7 separate regions of the Homo sapiens genome follow, and all the other regions are linked to region 3. Evidence: promoter capture Hi-C in 16 types of primary human blood cells and fetal thymus (Javierre and others, 2016). All regions are on one chromosome and are shown on one strand. The core of a region is centred on a gene start or on the middle of the fragment in contact, and the rest is flanking DNA. Distances in the headings are between cores, read along the strand shown. Region 1 overlaps RTTN (rotatin). Region 2 has its middle 7.5 kb from the start of CD226. Region 3 holds the start of DSEL (dermatan sulfate epimerase like). Region 4 overlaps LOC105372180 (a long non-coding RNA gene). Region 5 overlaps RTTN (rotatin). Region 6 overlaps CD226 (CD226 molecule). Region 7 overlaps CD226 (CD226 molecule).

Region 1 (3,264 bases), core at 695-3,194, 2.7 Mb after region 3:
CTGGGCAACAGAGCGAGGACTACATATCAGAAAAAAAAAACAAGAACAAAGTTGAAGGACTTATACTACCTTATTTCAAGACTTACAATAAGCTTCACTATAGCTAACTATAAGCCTTCACTATAAGCTACAATAATTAAGTCAGTTGGGTATTGGCATCATAAGAGAAAACCGATCAAATAGATTCCAGAAGTAAACCCACATATAGTTAGTTGGTAAGGAATTCAGGAAAGAAAGGACAGTCATTTGAACAAATAGTGCTGAGAAAATAATTGTATACCCATAAAAAAAAAAGTTCATTCCTTACCTTGTGCTAGATACAAAAATCAACTCAAAATTAATCAAAGATATAAAACCTAAAACATATGTAATAATTCTAAAAGAAAGCATAGGAAACACTCTTTGTATTCCAAGTTAGGCAAAGATTTCTTAGATAAAATATCAAAAGCATGATCCATAAAAGAAAAACTAAGAAACTGAACCTCATCAAAATTAAGTTTTTCTGCTCTTCAAAAAGCTAAATGATCATCTCAATAGAGACAAAAGATTTGGCAAAATACAATAATCATTCATGATCAAAACTTTCAACAAACTAAGAATACATGGAACTTCCTCAACTTTATAAAGGCATCTACAAAATACAAATGTACTAGAGCTAATCTTGTATTTAATGGTGAAAGATCGAATGCTTCCCTCTAAATCATGAAGAAGGCTCTCACCACATCCATCCAACATTATACTAAGGCTTCTAGCCAGGGCAATTAGGCAATTTAAAAAAATTAAAGGTATCCAGAGTGAATAGAAAGAAATAAAACTGTCTTTATTCACAGATAAGATGATCTTAAAACTGTTTTTATTCACAGATAACAAGATTTTATAGATAGAAAATCCTAAGGGATCTACCAGAAAACAAAACAAAACAAAAAAAACTACCAGAACTAGTAAGTTCAGCAAGGCCACCAAATAGACGATCAATACACAAAAATCAATTGTATTTCTATATACTAACAATGAGCAATCCAAAAACTTTTAAAATTTTCATTCACAATGGCATTGAAAAGAATACTTAAGAATAAGTGTTTTTTTAAAAAAAAACCTAGACTTGCTCTCTAAAAATTACAAAAGATGCTCATAATCATCAGTCACTAGGGAAATGCAAATTAAAACCCACTAAGATACCATTGCACATCTATCAGAATGCCCTCTCCCCCCCAAAAAAAAAAAAAAAACTGAACATAATAGATGTTGAAGATGTGGAACAACTGGAATGTCCATAGGAATGTTATTTGTAATAACTAGAAACAACCCCATTGTCCACCAACAGGTGAATGGATAAACAAATTGTGGTATGTCCACACAATGTAATACTACTCAGAAATAAAATGAATAAACTACAGTAAGCCTTCACTTAACTTGGTCAACAGGTTCTTGGAAACTGACTTTAATGAAACAGCATTACAAGTTCCATGCCATTTCACTAAATGCTGATGAGAAAAAATAACTGGGTTTGTTATAAGTCAGTTTGCTTAAAGTCACAGTTTCCGAAAACCTATCTATGATGCCAAGTGAGGAACTGCTGTACTACTACATAAACAACATGGCTCAGCCGGGCGCGGTGGCTCGCACCTGTAATTCTAGCACTTTCGGAGACCAAGGCAGGCAGATCACTTGAGGCCATTCTACCATAAAGACACATACATGTGTATGTTCACTGCTGCACTATTCACAATAGCAAAGACATGGAATCAACCTAAATGCCTATCAATGGGAGACTGATTAAGGAAAATGTGGTACATACACACCAATGAATACTATGCAGCCATAAAAATGCATGAGATCATATCCTTTGCGGCAACATGGATGGAGCTGGAGGCCATTATCCTATGCAAACTAATCCAGAAACAGAAAACCAAATACACATATTCTCACTTATAAGTGGGAGCTAAACAATGAGAACACATGGACCCAAAGAGGGGAATAACAGACACCAGGGATTACTCGACGGCAGAGAGTGGGAGGAGGACCACAAAAATTACCTATCGGGTACTAGGCTTATTACCTGGGTGACAAAATAATCTGTACACCAAACCCCCATGACACAGTTTACCTACATAACAAACCTGCACACGTACCGCTGAAGCTAAATAAAAGTTTTTTAGAAAAACAGCATGCCCACTTAAATAAATCTACCCTAGAGACATACCTGCACATTTATGAAATAGCATAAGCCCATTATTCTTTGTACATAATTTATATTAACAATAATATCCATCAAGAGACTAGGTTAACAAATACACAACGAAGCATTTGCTACCTATAAAAAAGAACGAGAAAATCTCACGTATAGATAGATAGGGAATAATCCTCATACCTACTATTCTATGCACATAAGACGTATTTTTAAGTTATAAAAACAGGGTGCAAAACAGTGTCTATAATATACCACCTTTTATGCAGGATGGGGAGAGGATAAGAATCTACATACTTAGTTGCTTACATTTGCAAAAATAAAATAAAAATAGAAAAAAATAGCCAGAAAATAAAAATGACTACCAATAAGGAAAACATCTTAAAGGTAACTGGATGGGAGAGAGGCATCTCTGAGCTACATTTTTATGAAGAAAAAACAATTCCCAATAGTGAAAACAAACAAAAAAAAATCTAACTGTATGCTGAATGGGTAACGGTAGCTTTAAGGCACAGTATTTTGACTGTATATCCTTAGTGAGATTAGTCTATCTCAAAAAGAACTGCCAGGAAATCTTGAACTTTTCATTAGAATTGTTCATAGCAATGTTAATATTGCTGTTCTGAAACTATCTTATGTATGTTTAAGGTCAAAGCTAATAAGCAATTATGCTGATATTGCTAGGAACGAAGACTTTCTACAAGCGCAAGGATAAGAAATACAAATTTAAAATAAGAAAAATAGCAATAAACTCACGATCTTTAAAAATACGTATTTCCTAATTGTTCCTGAAAGAAAAGAATGATATCACAGTAGCTATAACCACCTCTAATGGCCTGGTTTTGGTCTTAATATACGTTCCACTATTAGAAGTAACCAGAACCTTTGGAAAAATAGGCCTGTTCCAGGCTATTTATAACATAAGCCTGGGACATATTGAGTCAAAAAGAAAAAAGATTTTGAACACGAATGAGACAATGAAACCGGCTTAAAAGAACCAAAATCTTAAAAAATACTATTCCCTATATCCCAAAGAAAACATTGATTCTTACCATATCTATACCAAAAAGGCTGCT
Region 2 (3,304 bases), core at 777-3,276, 2.4 Mb after region 3:
GGTGGCTCACACCTGTAATCCCAGTACTTTGGGAGGCCAAGGCAGGTGGATTGCTTGAGGTCAGGAATTCAAAACCAGCCTGGCCAACATGGTGAAACCCCGACTCTACTAAAAATACAAAAATTAGCTGTGCGTGGTGGTGCGCAACTGTAATCCCAGCTACTTGGGAGGCTGAGACAGGAGAATCGCTTGAACCCAGGAGGTGGAGGTTGCAGTGAGCTGAGATTGTGCCACTGCACTCCAGCCAGGTCAACAGAGCAAGACTCCGTTTCAAAAAAAAAAAAAAAAAGTTTAATCTTATGTTGACTAAATCTTAGGTGAACAATGTTATGTGAATTTCACCTCAATTTTTAAAAATTGTTACTAGTGAATAGTATGAGTCCACATTCACCCCAGGTCTTACCAATGAATGAGGCCACCCCATCTTGCTGTTGGCCACGTATTAATTGATTTCATTTGATCCCCCAACCACCCCGGTCCAAAGATGCCAAGTACATTCTAAGAATACAGTACATTAGCATAGTACAGTCTAAGCATAGAGTCCACAGACACACTCTGTCACAACTTTGTGATAACAGCTGGAAATCAATAATGCAAAAGATCATGATAGTCGAGGTTGTCAGATAAATGATTTAAGATATTTTTAAAAATCATTATGTGCTTATTAAACAAATGCCAAAACATATCTATTTTCTGAGGGAGGGGTCAGGGTTGGGTAAAGTGGGGTAGAGGTGCAGGTAGAGAGGTAGAAGGGCTGAGGGCCAAGCAGGCATCTGCAACACCGTGCTGCCTCAAATCCTAAAGGAAATGAGATGAAACCTAGCATCATCCACTCTCGGTGGTTTCTATGATCAGGCCCAAAGTGAACTTCCTCACCCAGGATAAAGAAATGAGGTTCATGGGAGGAGGACTGGAAAAGGGGTACTAACTGGTAATAACTTGTAGGAACTCCTTATTCCCAAGGCATCCAGAGCCAACTAGTCAAGAGATGAAGAGAACTTGTGTATTTGCACCCTGGAATTGAGGGTCCTAGAGGTCACAGATTCGAATGAAAGGGGCAGAAAGACTTGCAGCTGAAGACAAAGTCCAGCTGTTACGACTTTGCTAGAGATGAGCCCTATTTATCAACATCTAACCAAAGACAAATAGAGACAGCGCTTGAGCTATTTTTGTTGTGTCAGCAGCCATTTTTTGCATGATTTATGAAGGGATTTTGGCTTGAGGTTTTTTTTCTAATAGAGCTGTCTGTATAAAAGAGCTTTGTCCTCAAGGAAGTCATTAATCAAAATATTACTGGATTTCTCTACTATTAAAAATGTCTCAGCTAACCACATGAGCATGAATTCATCTCACAAGCTTGCCTCTGAATGCAGACTCCTAGGTGGCCTGGGTGGGTGGGGACGGGGAACACTCTTCAGCCACACTGTTCTTCTTCCTGTAGGCTGTCCACCCAGGTAGAACCTTCCCTGTCACCTCAGTTTCATTGTTTCTGCTACCTACAATATGTCCTGCTTCCCCAGATGTCTCTATGGTTTCTGAGCATTGGGAGGAGTCTCCTAGTGTCTACTCAATGACCCCACCTTCCCCAGTTTATGCAAAAACACCTGATGTGTGTGATGGAGAATCTGCTCTGATACCTTTCGACACTTGCTTGGAAAACTATTCACATGCTGGAAAGCAGAGGACTGTGAACAGAAAATCTAGCTAAACTCAGAACAAGTGACTGGGGCTGGGAAGATTATAGTGTGAGAGGTCGTTTGCTCCCTCCACTCCTTCTCAGATGCGAGGGTTTGCCTGCCTTCTGCTGGGATGCCCCAGCTGTTAAGAGGCTCATACTTCCAGTAAGATTTCCACAGGAGGCCGGGTGCGGTGGCTCACGCCTGTAATCCCAAAGTGAAGGCCGAGGCGGGCGGATCATGAGGTCAGGAGATCGAGACCATCGTGGCTAACACGGTGAAACCACGTCTCTGCTAAAAATACAAAAAATTAGCCGGGTGTGGTAGCGGGCACCTGTAGTCCCAGCTACTCAGGAGGCTGAGGCAGGAGAATGGCGTGAACCCAGGAGGCAGAGCTTGCAGTGAGCCGACATCGCACCACTGCACTCCAGCCTGGGCAAAGGAGCGAGACTCCATCTCAAAAAAAAAAAAAAAAAAAAAATTTCCTCAGGAACACAATAGTCTGGGTTTCTGCTCCCTTCCTCAAATAATCTCATTAAGAGAACCTTTCCAATGTGGGCCACATGGTCTCCTCTAGACCACGATACCCTTAGAACCTTGGCAAGTCATACACATGTCCCCAGGAGTGAGGCTACTGCTGAGTGACCAGTAGAACCCCACTTCCAGTCAACGCAAAGACTCCAGTTGGGGTTCAGCAGGGATCCTCTAAGACAGGGTTCTGAAACTATGGCCTGAGGGCTGGGCGCAGCCCACTGATTTCCATAAACAGTTTGGTTGGAGACAGCCATGCTCACTTGGTTACATACCATCCACCGCTGTTTTTGTGCTGCAATGCTGGAACCAAGAGGTGTTAGGTCACAACTGACAGACACCACACGGCCCACAAAGCTGTAAATATTAACTATCTGGCCCTTTACAGAAAAAGTTTCCCAACCCTTGAGTAGGATAATAAATCTTTGGATCATGGACATTTATTATTTAAGTTCATCCTTGTTCAGTCTTGCTGGAGAGAAGGAAGATTTAAGCTTGACAGACCAGATGCCGGTAAAATTAGCTCAGTTTTCTTATTCTCAAGAACTTTACGATCAGATCTATTATAAATACAATTCTAGAGACAGACTGAGAAAAAGTACTTAACTGGCACCCTTTTACTACAAACTGCACCCCTCATTAAACTAACAGTTCACAGAACACCGAGCACTTAACTTACTCCAGCTTTTTCCGGCAACTCTCTTGTCCTGCTGCATCAACTTGCCATGGTTTCACTGGCAGCCCCCACCCTTTCGCACACGATTCATTTAAAAAGTTGAGCTCAGACACATCCAGTCTTTTTTCTGAGAAGGTTACTAACCTTGAGATGTGAGTGCTGCTCGCTCTAACGCTTCTTCCCATCTGCGTCTTGGTTAAGGACTTTTATCGTATCCTGTTTATCGTGGCCTCCTAGCCTCAACACCCTCTTGGTCACTGCAAGCTCCCCGCTGCTCCCTCCCTTAATTAGCACTGCAGGAGCTGAGGGGAGCGTTCAGCCCACTCAGGAGCTGACTCTGCCCATGCTCTTGAGCTCTTCTCTCTACCAGAACTTCCTCAGATAGCAACTGAAGTGAATCACTAATATTTCATGAAGCGGG
Region 3 (3,343 bases), core at 725-3,224:
GCTGACATTCAGTACATTTTAAGCAAGTGCAGTTGCCAAAAAGAGAAAACTTAAATTGTATATCTCTGTCCCTGGCACAGTTTTGCTTCCAGTAAAACTTTGAATAACGTTAAAATCTCTAATTTTTCCATAATACACAGGGAAGTGATACAGGTAAAAAACACTATGAATTTAGCATTTACCTCCTTTACTTAAATCTATTTAACACAAAGAGTTGGAACACACATTGTAAAAAAAGAGAAAAAGCACTCCAAAATTCAAATTAAGAGTCATTTCTAGCACAGAAAACCATCACTGGTGATAAGCTCACCACACATGTATGATGCATTTGTGTATGTTTGCCCAAAGAAGATGATGAAGTACTGACATTCTTCGAGTGAGTGGACTCAGTTGTCATTCCTCTCAACTTTTTATACTTCTTGTCTTGTGAATACGTTTTTCTTTCATTTATGAGAGAGAAACATCCTCAACAAGTGATCAAAGTCTTAGTTGGTTTTTAAAAATTCAAAATTCTTGCCTTCATTTCAAATATTTTTCAGGCTTACTTACTCATCAGCCTATTATGACAAAGAGAAATCATGTTCACATCTTCTTTTATCAGCTTCATGTGTACAAACATAAAAATGGAATATCTTCAGTCACCTAGATACTTCTCGTCCGATCATGAAGTAACCGCCAACGGGGAAAGAAAATTCCCCTTTCAGCAACAGTGAGGTCTCTCTTCTGCTCTTTTTTCATGACACTTTTCTGGGGATGGGGGACAAAATAAAAATTCTCTGAGGCTTCAGGTATGCTGAGAATGAATATAAACTGATGACTTAAACATTCTGCAATCACTTAATAGAAATTTTAGAATCACAGTAAAATCTCATATTATCTGCAACCTAAGCTAGGGCAAGTGATTTTTTTCTTATCCATTTACACGCACTTATTTGGAAACCAGTGACCGTCAGCAGAAGACAAGCAACTAACAATACAAAATATACAAGATAGAACTCTCCCGACAATATCTATAGTTTAACGCCACTAACGTGGCTTCAGTCACTTAAAAAATGTTTGTATTCAAATGCAGTTTACACAAAGATGAGTCCTGCTATCCTTGTTATTTCTTGTTCCCAAGGACCGAGGGACAAAAAACTGAAAGTTGAAAAGATCTTTTTTTTTTTTTTTTTTTTTAATTCCGGGGGAAGGTTTAGAGTTCATGGGATCAGAAGGTATCTTCCTAATGAGAACTACTCGGACCAGTCACTTTTCTCGGCGGGGTAACCGCGAATCGTGACCAGGCGCCAAGCCGAGGGGCGGGAGCTCCGCGCTCGGCGCTCACCTGTGGCCGAGTCCCTGTCCTCAGGTGGAGCCGCCAGAGGGAGCTCGGACCCCGGTGTCGAAAGACGCCTCTCCGTGCCCGTCCGCGGCTGGAAGAACCTAAGCAAGTTTCAGTCTTGGACAAGTCTCCCCTCTGTAGGAAACATTCAGGCTAGGAGTTTCCTGATCCGCCCCGCCTGTTGCATTTTTTCACTGGCGTCCTCCGACCCTGCCGCCCCCATTCTCCGCTCCCCGCTCTGGGGCTGAGTGAGGCAGGATGGCGAGAGACCCCTGAGCCACCAAGTCCGCTTACCTCAGGCAGATCCCGACGGGGGCTCGGCGCCGCACTGGGCCCCAAGGGAGACGGAGGTGGAGAGTTCCAGAAAACTGCTCTGCACGGCGGGCCAGGCTCCCGCGGGGCTCCGCAAGACCCCCGCGTCGTCTCCCGCGCTACGGCAGGCGCTGCCCCAGCTCGGTCTCCTCAGCCGCGCTCGGTCCCCGCGACCCGCACGGCCCGGACACGCCCGCCCTCAGGAAACGCCGGACGCTTGTGGGGGCAACCACGGACCGCAGGACAGAGACCCGCGGGCGGCGGGTTCTCTCGGTGGCGCCGTATCCAGAGCAGCGCCCGCGTGCCCAGGCGGTGATGTCGCCGCGGCCGAGGATCCTCTGTGCCAGCTCCGGCCGCGCAGCCCGGGGAGGGTGAGACGGCGACGCGGGCCGGCAAGCGGGGGCGGGGCGGAGGCAGGACGGGGCGGGGTTGAAGGCGGGGCTGAAGGCGGGGCCTCAGGGAAGGCGAGAGACAGCGACGCTGGCTGGCGGGCGTGGGGCGGGACGGAGACAGGACAGGGCGGGGTCAGAGGCGGGGCTTCGGGGAGGACGGGAGGAGCCGTGAGCAGGCCGGCGGCGGGCGGGGCGGGGCCGAAAGCAGGTGAGGCGGGGCCAAGCGCCCCGGGTTTCTAAGCGGAGGAAGCTCTAGGCGTTTGTGTTCTGGGCTTGCAGCGGTGGCCGCGCGCTCCCGGAGGAGTCGAGCTGGAGGAGGGGACAGTTTGGGAGTGCGAGAGTCTAAAGACGCTGCCAGGCTGGCGTTAAAACCTTTTGGTTATGGGAAGACGACAACTATATAATAGAGCCATAGTGGGGGCTGTGGGATTGACTCAAATGATGGGAGGAGCTGGAGTGGGAGGGGATAAGCCCTGGGACGACAGAAATCATCCTTTTGGAAAGAGCAAGGGCTGGGGAAGGAGGGAATGAGCACTCCCTTGGAACTGAGAGGCAGCCTGGCTGAGCTTGCTGTCCTTTGGAAAAGCAAAACCGAAATACCCAGATTAATATAGGAGGACAACTTCTGTAGCCCAGATGCTAACAAAGATCAAGGGAAAACAGAAAAGACTAATCAGCTTTACTGATGGAAAACAATTTCTCAGGCAGTATAAATAGGGGAAGCATGGGACAAACAAGTAGAAGGAGCCTCTTATTTAAAAATGGGACCTGGTATTCGGTAAAGACCTACATGCAGACAGGAGAAGGCAGTGTGCCCCGGCTACTACGACATGTGAGTGCAGTGCCAGGTCGTGGAAATCCTAGAGCAGGCTGGGACTCCTGTTGCACTCCACACATGGAGCTTCTCACAGATAGCTGAGATGACACTTTGGCATAAACCAACCCAAGCTCTGACCTCAAATGTAAAAAATAATAGCTTAGTAGTAATAAAAATACAGGGAAATATCAAGCTTCACAAATGAACAATTCCATTCTCAGTTGGGGATTAGTAACACATTCAGTCTCTTCATTTCCCATACTATTTTGGTAATATTTAATAAGATATATTTTAACATTTTAAAAATAAATGTCTTGCTTAGATCATTTGCTGCTGAAAATCAAACAGTAGACGACTGCTAGCAGAATAAATTTCAAATCATTTAACTTTGAGGTGAAATGTGGCCTCTAACTCCTCATCACTCTTCTGTTTTGGCCCCGTAGTAACCCCTAGCCCAGTCCAAATAGCCACACTTGCTTTTGCTTGGGTGCTTCAGTAACT
Region 4 (3,615 bases), core at 100-2,599, 2.7 Mb after region 3:
GTTTAGTAGAGATGGGTTTTCGCCACAATGACCAGGTTGGTCTCGAACTCCTGACCTCAAATGATCCTCCTGCCTCGGCCTCCCAAAATGCTGGAATTACAGGCGTGAGCCACCGCACCTGGGCTACATCCTTCTTTAAGTGTGTTTTGCTGTTCTTTTTTTAACTTCTTAAGCTAAAGGTCTTGTTTACATTCTTTCTTTATTAGTTATAGAGAATTTTAAGTCCATGAATTTGCATGTAAAAAAAGTTTTAATCATGTATCATGAGTTTCAATTTGTAAGGTTTTGTTCTCAGCCAATCTGAAACTGCTGTTTTGATACTTTCTGTTTCACCCAAGATCCATGTAGGAAGATGGTCTTTAATCACCAAGTCTTTCTTACATACACTTTAGTTATTAATTTCGACTTTTATTATATCAGAGTCAGCAACAATTACAAAAGGTCAGGGCCTTTTGTAATTTGAATGTTAAAGTCAAAGATTTTAGGTGAACTTGAAAAAAATGGGCAATAGATGTCTGCGTGGATGTATAGAAAACTACATAATTTTCTTCTTGTATTTACAGTGGTTTTTGTTGTATTTATTTAAATGCTATGTATAAAAACTTATGTTGAATTTTACACGATGATAAATGATGGTCACTCAACTGGTGATATATACATGGATTGGGAAGGGGTCATGGGTAGAGCTATTATATGTTGAGATTTGCTATGATCACAAGCCACAGGACATTAAGGACACATGAACCCAAAGGCGGAGGTCAAATTCTACTATCTAATTATCTACTGATTCTGCTATTTCCACTTGAATCTGATTCATCTTCAACCTCTTGGTCATACCTGTAAAATCACTGGCAGTCATTGCCTCAGTGTGCTGAATCAGATCACTCAGATTAGATGAGATATTTATACCCAAAGTCACAGGAAATAGTTACTCTCCTAAGAACTCATATTACTATCTGTAGGAATTGATTCTAGGGGGAAATGAAATGCTTTTTTTCCTCTTGGAAAAGACATACATTTTTGCTCTTCCTCACACTTTGGACATGAGTTTTCATATTTGGGGTTATACATGGTGGGTCTGTCAGTTGTGATCATGTGCATTTTATACCCTTTCTTTCTGTTAATATTTGATGAAATCTGGTTCATATCAGTATAAGCTAAAATATTGTATAGAGCACAAGCTTTGGAGGTAGACAGACATGGATTTAAAAGCAGTGTTTTGGCTTCCCTAATCACACAACTGTGGGCAAGCTGATTAACTTTCTCGATTGCAAATAACAAAGCTGTAAGTCAGGCAAGTAAGCAAAAATGGGTTATCTAATATCTCACTCTAGAAGTGGATCTAGCCTCAGAGACTCAAAAGAATACCAGTGTTTTTTATTCATCTCTCGGCTTTGATTTTCTCAGTGTGTTGTATGTTTCTCTTCTATTACAGGCAGAATTTCCTCAAAATGTAGAGGAGGAGAAGATTGTGGTCCAGACTTCCATCTTCCCATATAATGACTCCAGAAGAAAAAGAAAGCTTCTCTCTGAGCATCCAGATATAAAATCTATGATAAGAACCCTAATCAGGATTACCAGTAGGAGATTACCTGATCCTAGGTTATTTGTTCACACTCTCTGAACAGCAGGGCAGGATATTATAATTATTAAAATTAGAGTTACAGAAAGTGGGGCAGAAGACTTCCACTTAAAAAGGTATGTTATTCACAGAAAATGAGGGAAAAGAATCTTGCACAGAGGGAAGAAAAAAAATGATATCTCTATACTCACTAAGCCTCAGCTTCCACAAGTAAAAATTAAGATTAATAATAATACCTACTAATAGGACTGCCTGGGGGCCAAAGAAGATGATTTAGAGAAAGGATTTGTTCCAAGACCTCCCATAATAAGTAGTTACTACAAATAATAGCTCTGTTTTAACACCTGTCAAACTTGGAGGTACCTCCCTTTCCAGGAATCGAATGCAATGTCAAACCATGTTCAAGTACTGTCTGTGAGTGTAACTGCAAGGTAGACGCTGCCTTCATCAAAGGGATCTTATGCCCCAGAAACAACTTTGCTACGTAAGTGATGGAGGCTTGCAGAGTGGAGGTGCCCACAACCTTACTGCATTTATTTGTGCAGCCATATCGAAAACATTTCCAGCAACAGAAAAAGGGGGAAGGAAGCACTCTGATACTTTTTTTCTTATTCTTCGGAGGGGACACATTATTGGCCCAAGAGGGAAATCCTTTTACAACCTACTTTTACATTAACTGGGATCATAATTTATTTATGAAAACATCATATAAAAAGAGCAAGCAAGCAGGATTCCTAAACAAAGGGGGCTCAAACCAATATATGTGTAGAAGTTATTCATTGTCCCCAGGGCAGGCATACGTTTTCGTGTGTCTTTCAGGAAAGTCACTGGCACCCCAGCCTTCCTTCTTTCAGAATAAAGGTCATGATTTATTAATAATTCTGATCTCTAGGAAGGAAAAATGACCCCAGGTTTCATCCCTCACTTACGAATTTTCCTAATCATGCCCCATAACTTTGTCCTATGAATTCACATATTTAATTTTGAAGGGCATCATCAAATTCTAATTTATTCTCTCAATACCAAAATAGAAAGTTAATACATATTTTATGCCATTTTAAAGTGGAAGGATTGAAACAAGGTGTATTCACTTTCCATTTCAATTAGAGCAACGTGATTTGAGCCCTGCTTTCTTTTCACAATTTAATAAATAGTTGTCTTAATTATGAAAGGACAGACGCAGATAAAGTTGTCTACTTTCACCACATCCATTCAGCACTGTACTGGAAGTGTTATCCAGGGTAACTAAACAAGAAAAAGAAATAAAAGGCATCCAGATTAGAAAAAAAAGAAAATTTATATATGTAATTGACATCACCTTATATATAGAAAATCCTGACTGGGCGTGGTGGCTCATGCCTATAATCCCAGCACTTTGGGAGGCCAAGGCGGGTGGATCACCTGAGCTCAGGAGTTTAAGACCAGCCTGGGCAACATGGTGAAACCCCATCTCTACCAAAAATAAAATAAATAAAATAAAATAAAATAAAATAAAATAAAATAAAATAAAATAAAATAAAATAAAATAAATAAAATAAATAAAATAAAATAAAATAAAATAAAATAAAAAAAATAAAATACAATACAATACAATACAATACAATAAAAAAATAAGCCAGGAGTGGTGGCATGTGCCTGTGGTCCCAACTCCTTGGGAGGCTAAGGTGGAAGGTGGGAGGATTACTTGAGCCTGGGAGGCAGAGGTTGAAGTGAGCTGAAATGGCACCACTGCACTCCAACCTGGGTGACAGAATGAGACTCCATCTCAAAAAAAAGAAAAAATAATCCTAAGATATTCACAAAGAAACTATTAGAGCAAAGAAGAGACTTTAGCAAGGTTGCAGAATGCAAGATCAATGTACAAAATCAATTCTTTTTCTATACCCTAGCAATAAACAATCCAGAAGTCCAATTTAGAAAATAATTCAATTTCCAATAATATCAAAAATAATAAAATACTTAGGAATAAGTTTAACACAATAAATGAAAGACTTCTGCATTAAAAATTATAAAACATTATTAAAAGTAATTAA
Region 5 (3,516 bases), core at 377-2,876, 2.6 Mb after region 3:
TAATATAACTATTAATCCTGCATATTCCCTCCAGTTTTGTCTCCTGGTTTTATTACAACATGGAAAGTAGATAAGCAGCCATTATCAGAAGGCAATGTTAAAGAAATTACGAGCAAATTACAAGCCTGGGATTTACAATGACTGGTAGGGTTACCCTGGGTTTGTAAAGTTTGGAGAGGTAAGCCTTCCAAGAGTTAAATGCTACCTGGGCCTTGACAACCACCTGGATTCATGCTTCGGGTCATGTGCGGAAACTTGCCCTTGCTACGGTTCAGCTTGTTTCACTAACTCCTCTAAGAGTATAGTCTAATTAAAACTTAAAAATAAACCTTAGATTTATACAGGATTTTGAGGAGTGAGGTGTAGCAATATGATAAATATATCCCTATAAGGTGAAAATATATGGATAGGTAAAAGGACAGAAACAGCACATCTTATATCCCCAATAAGTGTACTTTTGTATCTTCCAAATTACCTAAAACTGCAGCAACATGGATGGAGGTGGAGGCCATTATCTAAGTGAACTAACTCAAAAATAGAAAATCAAATATTGCGTGTTCTCACGTATAAGTGGGAGCTAACCAATGAATACACATGGACATAAAGACAGACATAACAGACACTGAGACTCCCAAGGAGGGAGTGGGGGAGGCGGCTGAGGTTATAAATTACCTAACTGGGTACAATGTTCAATATTTGGGTAATGAGTACACGAGAACCCCAATCCCCACCACCATTACGCAATATACTTATGTAACAAACATGTACATATATCCCATGAAGCTAGAATTTTTTTAATGTAAGCTATAAAAATGTTAGGTAACCATTTACTGATGTGATATTCAGAACATGAAAAAGAAAGTTAACCCAACAGAAAACAAAGCAAGATACACTATAACCCGCACTGTGCACTAACCTAGAAAAGGAAAAAAAGATGTTAACATCAACACATATTTAACTATCTACAAATTTGTTTATTATTACTAAATTAGAGAAGTAATACAGCAAAGTGGGTAAGAGACTGCCTAGACTCAAAGCAAAGGCGTACCACTGACTAGCTGTGTGATTTAGGACAAACTATTTAAACTCTCTATGCAAAAGTTCCTAAGCTTAGAAAATAAGGATAGTAACAGTTCACAACTCAAACAATTATACAAGTTACTATGTCTTACATTTCTAGAAGGGTGCCTAAAACATAGTAAACATATGTTAACTATTATTATTTGCTTTAAATTATTGTGAACACTATAGAGAAGAATTTTTAAGTCTGGTCGGCATAAGAACAAATTCTACGTTCTATTTTAAGAGGCCCTTGCTGTCTTGTATATAGTTTCATCAATAATGAAATATACTACTTATACTGAAAATTTATCACCAATTAATTTGAAACATCTACTAGGTTGATAATTGTTTAAAATCACCCACCTGCCAAGTATAATCCTTTATAATTTCTGTAGGCATTGGAATTACAAGGAGATTCTGAAGAATAAATGCCGCCTGAAAATGTAAAAAAAAAAAAAAAAAAAAAAAAAAAAAAAAAAAAAAAGGTCAATACTGCCATCTTGTGGTCATCTCTGAAATAACCAATATATTGTAATTAATAGCAAAAGACATCTCTGGTCAACTGCACATGCTGAGAGGTCATTATGAGAATTGTCAAACTGTATTTCTTGTTAGGTGATGACCTTCTTAGGTAATGACCTTGTTAGGTAATGACCTAACAGCATATGAAATTATTTCATCAGGAAATATATCTTTTCCTATTTCAGAATTCAGCTTTATTAAAAAATGATTTGTATAACATAAATTCTTCTGGTAGCATTTAAGAAATATAATTTTAGGTTTCTACTATCCCCTTTCAGATTACACACACACACACACACAAACACACGCACCCCTCTGCCCCGCTTTCTCCCTTCTCTTATACAGACTCCTTTCAATAAAAACTTGCTAACTAGAAATACAAACCACAAATGTCCAACTTGACTAGATCCTGAAGATGATCAAATTAAATAATCATACAAATAGGAGCATTGATTGTCTGCTTAATGAAAGATGAAATAACCATAATGGGAGAATGACAGGATTAACAAGAGGATTCTAAGAAACTGACATTTCCAACCATGATAACTAGAAGTGATGGAAAAGCTTTAAAGTTGATAAATCAAGAAGCAGCCATAAATATAAACATCACTACTTAAAAACATGAAGGCAAACAGCAACAAAACTAGCCTTTTGAGCTTGGAACTGGCGACTGCTAATGGTGGACCCAGGAGCTGCTGTTTTTTTTCATAAGCCTCTAAGTACAATTTGATTATTGTTTTAAAACCATTTACATGAATCATTACTTTAACAAAAGCAGCAATAAAAAAAAACCACAAGCTATTCAGAAAGAATTAAAATAGGGTTTATTTTTCCCTCTCATGTTATATGATAAATACTACAAAGAGTTATTTTGACAGCCTCTTATCTATACTAAAGCTTCATAAATATCAGAGACCCATAAATGCTGAGATAATATAAAAGTAATTTTTCCTGTGAACTACCTTTCAATGCATAATAAAAAAAGTTCACATTAAAATATAGTATATTCCGATTTTATCTTATCGGAAGGAAGGACTCCAGTTTTTCCTGTGCATGAATACCTTTTAAATCCTCTACTGTCATTTTGTTTGGGTGTTCACAGACAGAAGAGATCATGGTCAGTGGTCAGTCCACCATGTTGAGCGGCAGTCAAGTATCGCTTACGGATACCATCACAAAGAATTTCTAAGGAAAAAAAGGAGAAAAGACAGACATACCTCCCGGCGCACCATACTACATTCTGACTGGTCCAGAAGAATGTTCACCACAGTTCCCCAGAGCCCACCGGAAATGTTCTGACAACTGTTTGCTAAGGCCACACAGCCCGTTTCAAGGGTGGTCAGTGCTGATCCTAATCCCAGTGAAGTGAATCTCACCTGTTCAAATTAAAGAGAAAGTTGTTGAATCAAATAAGCCTTTTTCCTAACATGAATTCTTAGTTTTTCTGGTACATAAATATCACACTTTAAAAAAATCCATTGGTTTTATGATCCTAAATTATAAGAGACACCTATAGAAGACAGTGTCCTCCATTCCATGATTCAAGAAAGCAGTAATATAGGAAAAATTAAATATAAGCAAATTTCAAAGCAAAGTAAAACTGGGTATAAAAAGATGCATAAAAATTATAGTTTGCAAGCCTTTTTCTAAGGAAAGCATAGGGCACTTACATTTTATGAACACAATTTCAATTCTTCATTCTTAAAAAAGGTAGCTATTCTTTGTTCTACCTTTCTTAATTTTTTATTGTTTCTTCCAAATAAATGATTTTAACTTTCTTAAAACTTCTAAACAAAGAGGCAATTATCATTTTACAAGGCATTTCGTATTTTCCTCAAAAGTTATTCAAGAGAAAAACGTTCCCAAATAAGATTGATGTGGTATAATATGCTTGCTGTAGAACCACTGCTGTTCAAGCCACACGTTTTGGTA
Region 6 (3,406 bases), core at 842-3,341, 2.3 Mb after region 3:
ACACTCTGGAAAGGGATTCAGAAGCCAGTTTATGCCCATACTTAATTCTAGACACAACATTTAAGCCCTGGTAAATAGCCCTTGCCCAAAGCTTAATCTCCCCTGGATCATTCTGTTATATGATACAGTAAGTTTTCTTTTGTATATAAACCAGTTAGAGTCAGGTTTTCTGAAACAGTTCTATGAAAAATGATTTTAGGTAATGAAGTATTTTTCCTATCAAAGTAACTCAATTCAGACAACTAGTATCTAAGGTAGACCTTGGGTAGTGGAAAAAAATTGCATAAAGATCCATGCATGAGTACATAAGAGTCATTACTAATGCACTCATGTCAAGAATAAGCTTAAACTCTAGTCTTTGGTCTGCGAGAGAAGGTTGGATAGTTGACATAAATATCCTCTCTTGTATCATCCATGGATTGATTGGTAGGTTGACTGGTAGAGATGGGACTTCTATAGTTATTGGGTGCCTAGAAAGACAAACAGCAGAGAGTGTCAATAATTCACTGCATTTCAACAACTAATGAAGACATTCAAAACATACCTCTCATAAATGCAGGCATGATATGGGACAAGTTTCCATTATAATTAATTTGATAAAACATTCTCATTGTATTGAACTTCTGTTGGAAATCATATTCTTGACTGAGATGCAACAGAAATCTAGTCTAGATTAATACTTGCTGTATTGTGCTATGAATTACCTGTTTCAATGTAGAACTCCCTCTCCCAATGTTAAGCTATTTTGATAAGAACAATTACTATCATTTTTATATGGAAATTCTAACACAGTGTCTGAACTTTAAAAAATAAGCAACTTAACATATAAAAAGTTAACAAAACTGACATCAAGATGATATTGTATAATCATTAATCTTCTCTACCGTAATCAAGTCACTTTGACCACATATGTATGTATGTAACAGAAAATATGCAGGTGTGAAAAAAGAAAGACAAATTAAGAGACAAAAGAAACTAGAGAAAGGTCTTTTGATGAGTAATTTAAAAATTTAGATTGACCTTAGTGTTGTTGGTTTTTTTGAGTCAGAGTCTCGCTCTGTTGCCCAAGCTGGAGTGCAGTGGCGCAATCTAGGCTCACTGCAACCCCCACCTCCCAGGTTCAAGCAATTCTGCCTCAGCCTCACGAGTAGCTGGGATTACAGGCAAGCACCATCACGCCCAGCTAATTTTTGTATTTTTAGTAGAGATGGAGTTTCGCCATGTTGGCCAGGCTGGTCTCAAACTCCTGACCTCAGACGATCCGCCCACCTCAGCCTCCCAAAGTGTTGGGATTACAAGCGTGAGCCACCATGACCAGCCAGATGTTAGTGTTTTTAAGAAGAAAGCAAAATGAAAATTCAAGTGCCATGATTACTTATAGAGGTTATCTTTTAAAAAAGAGAATGAAGTAGTTCTAATGTCTTTTTTTGACAGTCCAACCTATTAACTCTTTAATAATCCTTCAAAATATTATTCTACAAAAACCTGAAAAAGTTGGATACCTAATATAGACCGTTGCAAAGCTCCCTTTCATTCCCCAAATTCACAACAATAAATGTGACTAGACTGGCATGAGTAGACAAAGGCTAAGGATGAAGAAGGGAATCCCAAAATTGTGTATGACAGAGCACCAATTTATTTCTTGCTGAAGTGGCTGATGAAATAAAGCAAGGTTTCTTGATTCTACAGTTGGCATCAAGAAGCAATCCATGTTTTTTGCCAACAAACAAAAAAAATATTTTTTGCAAAAGTAACTACTTAATAAATAAAAAGTTAAACTGATAAATTATGAAGGCATCTGATGAACACATGTTGGATTGTCAGAACCTTTTTAGTACTTGGCTTGTGGCCATGTAGAATTCCACTGCGAATAGTTAAAATGAAAAGAAATTTATATACTTTTGGCTAGGAATTGGGGAATTTTTTGTCTTAGTTTGGGCTGCTGTAACAAAATACTGTAGACTGGGTTGCTTAAACCACAAACACTTATTCCTCACAGTTCTGGAGGCTGGGAAGTCCAAGATTAAGAAAATATTTTCCTAACTTGAGAAAAAAAAAAGAGTCCAGTGAGGGCCTGCGGGCCTGTTTCTTGGTTTGCAGACAACTGTCTTCTCAGTATCCTCACATTGCAAAGAGCAGAAAGAGGAAGCAAGCTCTTCTGTCCTTAAAAAGGCACTGATCCCATTCACGAAGACGCCACCCTCATGATCTAATTACATCCCAAAGTCTCCACCTCCTAATATCATCGCATTAGGCATTAGGATTTCAACATATGAATGTTGGGAAGACATAAATGTTCAATCCATAGCAACTTTTTTTGTGAAATTTCATAAACAGGATGCTATGCATTAAAGGAAGAGATTTGAAGTATAGTGGGGATAACGAGCATGAAAATACATATCCCTCTTATCTGCAAACCCAGAAGGAAGTTTCTAGTCTTTTAGTTAAACACTAAGGGGCAGCAGCAAGGCAGAATAAGGAAGAAACTTTTACAGCTCATCAAACTCCTGCAGCCCATAAGGAAATAAAAAAGTTCTTTGGTTGTATAAGTATACACTAATAACTTACCTCCAAAGATAATAATAATAATGAATATCATTACGTTCTTCTATGTGCTTGCTACGCTTCTGGTTCTTTTATGCAATTTAACCATCACAATAACCTTATGACATAAAAATATTATGTCCTCTCCTGGGTTGGATACTGTCCCCTGCAAATTCATGTCCTCCTCAGAACCTCATAATGTGACCTCATTTGAAAATAGGATCCTTGTAATTAGCTAAGCTCAAACAACGCTGTGCTGGAGAGGGGTGGGCCTTTAAGTCCAAGATAACTGGGGTCTCCATAAGAAAAGAAGGAAGGCAGACACACACACACAGCTGAGAACAGTGATGAGAGGGGCAGAGATTGGAGCGATGTGTCTACCAGCCAAGGATCGACAGCTCCACTAGAAGCTGGATAGAAGCATGGGATGGATTCTCATCCCACGAAGAAACCAGTACTTCTGACACTGTTTCTTGTACTTCAACCCTCCAGAATTATGGAAGAATAGATTTCTGTTGTTTTAAGCCACCCCGTTTTGGTAATTTGTCACAGCAGCCCTAGAAAAGGAACAAAGATTTAGGGAAGGCATAGTGTTGATTGTTATTACGCCAGGGTAATTGCTCCTTTATTTATATTCATATAAAAAACTTAGTTTCAAAGGGTATTAAAAATAGAATAGTTCAGAAAATAACTTTCTCCAAATAGCTGATATTTAAATTACAGGCAACTGCATGGTCAGGTTACTGAAAGGACAATAAAATATAAGATTGCTAACTGCAAAAGAGACTGACTTTGCATCTGTAAATTACAAAAGAAAAAAATGACAGTTCCGTATAAACTTACCTTCTGTGTATCCCAGGAC
Region 7 (3,252 bases), core at 17-2,516, 2.4 Mb after region 3:
TATTGCTGTATCTGATTGATGGATTCACAAGATAAAGAAACCCTCAATACTAGAATAATGGCCAACTCACCTAAATTCAGCCATTTAAAAAAATGCTGAATATGCGCATTAAATGAACATGTTTACCATAAATAAAAACAGAGACCAGCCCACGGGGCTGGCTTTTTCCATGTTTGATACCAGAAGATGTCTGGTGCTCACTCACCCTCGGCTACAGTCAATCTCATCACGAAGGTTTCGTTTTCTCCTGCGCTGGCCTGCAAGTAGCAGCGGTAAAGCCCCGAGTCTGAGACTGTGACATCGGGGATGACGATGACGCTCCACCTTCCGTGGCTGCAGTTGCTCACTATTTGTCTTGGGAACTTGGAGGTGAAATTTCTGCCATGGACCAAGTTGCAGTAAGTTAAGAGGTCGATCTGACGGGGCTGGATCTTTTCCCACCTCACTGCCTGCACAGGCCACGTCATCTGAGGCTGACAAGTGAGTGTGACATTCTTTCCAGGTTCCGAAACAATGTGGCTATTTGATGGCACAGCTGCCTCAAAACTATCTGAAAAGAAGAAGCAAATGATTAGATACAGGTTGTCAAATTTTGGGACACCCAACTGGAAGATACTTAATCATAAAAATAATTGGTGATGTTACCTAACACAGTTCTTCCGTTGTGAATGACCTCTTTATACTACTTTTTTTTTTTTTTTCCTGAGACGGAGTCTTGCTCTGTCACCCAGACTAGAGTGCAGTGGTGTGATCTCGGCTCAATGCAACCTCCACCTCCCAGGTTCACGCCATTCTCCTGCCTCAGCCTCCTGAGTAGCTGGGACTATAGGCGCCCGCCACCGCGCCCGGCTAATTTTTTGTATTTTTAGTAGAGACGGGCTTTCACCGTGTTAGCCAGGATGGTCTCAATCTCCTGACCTTGTGATCCGCCCACCTCGGCCTCCCAAAGTGCTGGGATTACAGGCATGAGCCACCGCACCCAGTTGTGAATGACACATTCTTGTAAGAGAAAGGGTTTTTTTTGTTTTTTGTTTTTTGTTTTTAAGTCCGGGAGATAAATAGAAAAGAGGATATGATTGTTCACACATAGTTCCATAAGTGTTACTTGGTTAACCATGTAGTGAGAAACACAGCCAAAACCCCTGGTGCTTTTCTTGGTATCATATCAAGAGGCTGAATTTTACAAAGAGACTGTTAGGCAATAATGCTGGGCTGGTGTCTCTGACACTGACCTACAGTATCAAATGTTCAGGTTATAATCATTCTGGCTAAGATTCTGACAGTTATGAAAAAGATACCAAATCATTCTCACTGAATATACACATGATCTCATTCTTCAGATATACAGGGTTGTCTTACACATGGGTAGAGTAGGGCCCCACATGTGGTATCAATTCTTGATACCATGAAAGTCCAGTATTCTCCCACCTTCCTCACACCATTTCTGGAATTCCTACCATAAAGTACTCAGTAATTGTCACTAAATATCTAAGTCCATGGTCCTTAGAGTGTGTTTGGGGGCCCTGGGCATCTCTGTGTCCCTTTAGGGGATATGCCAGTTCAAATCTATTTTCCTAGTGATATTGAGAGGAAATTCCCCCTCTTCACTCCAGTTCTCTCACAGGTATACAGTAGATATTTCCAGAGGCTCTGCCAGCTAGTGGTATGCATGCTTGAAAATTCTTGTGTTTTAAATTTTGCTCAATATTGATTTCTAATACAGTAAACATGACAGATATAGCGTACATAAACAAACACTCCCTGAGGGCCTTCAGTAATTTTTAAAATAGCATAAAGGGGTCTTGAGACCAAAAAGTTTGGGAACCCGATCTAAAGAATAAACTGTGGTAACTCTTTCTTAAAATTAAGATAACCCAGCAAGGTAACAAGTGGATCTATTTATTAGTGATGAACACCTTCTTTCTTCTGATGGCATCACTAATGCCAACAAATCCTGACCTGCTATTTCAGTAGAGTGAGGCCTGGGCAGTAATGATGTCACAAAACTCTCTGGCACTAAGGGAGAAATGCAAAAAGTGGGAAGTCATCTGTCACTTCAACTATGTGACAGTTTCACTCAGGACTGGCCCAGGAGCCATTGTCTTGGCATACAAACAAAAGAAAAAAGAAATAGAGAAAGAGAGAAAGGAAGGAGGGAAGGAGAAAAAGAAGAGAGAAAAAGAAAAAAGGAGGGAGGAAGAAAAAAGGAAGGAAAGGAGACAGAGAAACAAAAGAGATGTCACATTTCGAAAGAGAGAATGAAAGCAAGTCTAAAGTGCAGTAAGATTTGCCATCTATTGAACTAGAATATCATGGCTACGATAGTTTCAGCCGCACCAAAAACTAGCTTCTCATCTTCAGCATGCGGTTCCATGTGTCAAAATGTTGTAAAAAGAAAACCACAGCACTCCAGCTTTCTCCTCTGTACAACCGTTTACCAAAGGTAGCACTTTACCCACATAACACACACCCGGAAAACATTTCGTCTCTAAGTAATAAAGCAACACAAGAAAAGGGGAAGAAAGAAAAGCAAAGGAAGAAAATTCATTAAAAAAGGGAAAAAAGGAAATAAAAGCTTAAAAGAAACAAAAGGAAAATTAAAATAAAAATTAAAACAGGGAAAGGAAGACGTGAGAAAAGAAGGAAATGCGTGACAACATAAAATCAGATGCTAGCACACCATGTGGAGAAATGAAAGAACATAAAAGAAATGAAAAAAAGGAGGAGAAATCGACTTTCATGTGAGCCCTTCTGGTCCCTGGGAAGTAAGAGGCAGCGTGAATGCGTGTCCTCAGTGCTCACACGCACAACTGTTTTGTGTTTTTCTTCTTCTTCTCTCTGGATGCCGCCCCGTCCAATCTCAGGAGTTTCCTTTGTCTGCCTATCTAACCAAAACCATGCTGTCAGGCCCCCGTGAACCTGCCGACTCAGGTAGAAACAGGGGTCTACTCATAGCCGTGTCTGCATTTTCACAAAGGACAATGCAGGAAGCAATGGGGAAAATCCTAGAGGGGATGCAGCTGTCTTTGGGGAGCAAAGTGCAGGGAGGTTACAGCAGAGGCTCCATGTGAGGACCTAGACCCGCCTCTCAATAGACTCAGCCTGGAGGTGAAAGAAGTGGTTCCCAACCCTAGAGCCAGGTGGTTCAGAAGCTCAGAGTAGCCCCTGATTAACCTTTCCTGACAAACAGAGTAACTGATTGGTGTTAGATGAAAATCAAGACCTATTACGAGGTCGGCCAAACCTGCCTTG

What was found. The method cuts DNA at HindIII sites, captures the fragments that hold promoters and counts their contacts. A CHiCAGO score of 5 or more calls a contact.
Region 1: a fragment that was not itself captured here is called in contact with the fragment with the promoter of DSEL in region 3 in 6 of 17 cell types (activated CD4 T cells, fetal thymus, naive CD4 T cells and 3 more); the score reaches 11.9 in activated CD4 T cells.
Region 2: a contact is called between a fragment that was not itself captured here and the fragment with the promoter of DSEL in region 3, in 1 of 17 cell types (total CD4 T cells). The highest score is 5.1, in total CD4 T cells.
Region 4: a fragment that was not itself captured here is called in contact with the fragment with the promoter of DSEL in region 3 in 6 of 17 cell types (activated CD4 T cells, total CD4 T cells, fetal thymus and 3 more); the score reaches 9.6 in activated CD4 T cells.
Region 5: a contact is called between a fragment that was not itself captured here and the fragment with the promoter of DSEL in region 3, in 4 of 17 cell types (total B cells, total CD4 T cells, naive CD4 T cells and 1 more). The highest score is 7.9, in total B cells.
Region 6: a fragment that was not itself captured here is called in contact with the fragment with the promoter of DSEL in region 3 in 1 of 17 cell types (total CD4 T cells); the score reaches 5.2 in total CD4 T cells.
Region 7: a contact is called between a fragment that was not itself captured here and the fragment with the promoter of DSEL in region 3, in 1 of 17 cell types (total CD4 T cells). The highest score is 6.1, in total CD4 T cells.

What each region holds. Positions count from the first base shown.
Region 1 is chr18:70,184,868-70,188,131 of GRCh38, forward strand. RTTN (rotatin) reads right to left here. Exons shown (of 49, transcript NM_173630.4): 10 at 3,241-3,264. Among named protein-coding and RNA genes, the nearest start is that of RTTN, 19 kb to the right of the region's middle. The HindIII fragment of the contact is 3,709 bases long and covers 91-3,264 here.
Region 2 is chr18:69,953,728-69,957,031 of GRCh38, forward strand. It overlaps a transcript of CD226 not described here. Among named protein-coding and RNA genes, the nearest start is that of CD226, 7.5 kb to the left of the region's middle. The HindIII fragment of the contact is 1,345 bases long and covers 1,355-2,699 here.
Region 3 is chr18:67,514,746-67,518,088 of GRCh38, forward strand. It overlaps DSEL (dermatan sulfate epimerase like), which reads right to left and starts at 1,975. Exons shown (of 2, transcript NM_032160.3): 1 at 1,616-1,975; 2 at 1-747. DSEL-AS1 (DSEL antisense RNA 1) reads left to right here and starts at 1,801. Exons shown (of 5, transcript NR_033921.1): 1 at 1,801-2,004. The HindIII fragment of the contact is 6,208 bases long and covers 1-3,033 here.
Region 4 is chr18:70,208,258-70,211,872 of GRCh38, forward strand. LOC105372180 (a long non-coding RNA gene) reads left to right here. Exons shown (of 3, transcript XR_935599.3): 3 at 1,436-2,727. It overlaps LOC124904321 (a long non-coding RNA gene), which reads right to left. Exons shown (of 2, transcript XR_007066411.1): 2 at 2,096-2,827. Among named protein-coding and RNA genes, the nearest start is that of RTTN, 4.4 kb to the left of the region's middle. The HindIII fragment of the contact is 341 bases long and covers 1,180-1,520 here.
Region 5 is chr18:70,085,188-70,088,703 of GRCh38, forward strand. RTTN (rotatin) reads right to left here. Exons shown (of 49, transcript NM_173630.4): 31 at 2,802-2,960; 32 at 1,426-1,497. Among named protein-coding and RNA genes, the nearest start is that of RTTN, 120 kb to the right of the region's middle. The HindIII fragment of the contact is 1,039 bases long and covers 1,108-2,146 here.
Region 6 is chr18:69,863,970-69,867,375 of GRCh38, forward strand. It overlaps CD226 (CD226 molecule), which reads right to left. Exons shown (of 6, transcript NM_001303618.2): 5 at 3,388-3,406; 6 at 1-470. The coding sequence ends at 345. Among named protein-coding and RNA genes, the nearest start is that of CD226, 82 kb to the right of the region's middle. RefSeq lists an enhancer at 857-926. The HindIII fragment of the contact is 3,500 bases long and covers 342-3,406 here.
Region 7 is chr18:69,895,496-69,898,747 of GRCh38, forward strand. CD226 (CD226 molecule) reads right to left here. Exons shown (of 6, transcript NM_001303618.2): 3 at 206-550. Among named protein-coding and RNA genes, the nearest start is that of CD226, 51 kb to the right of the region's middle. The HindIII fragment of the contact is 2,614 bases long and covers 1-2,573 here.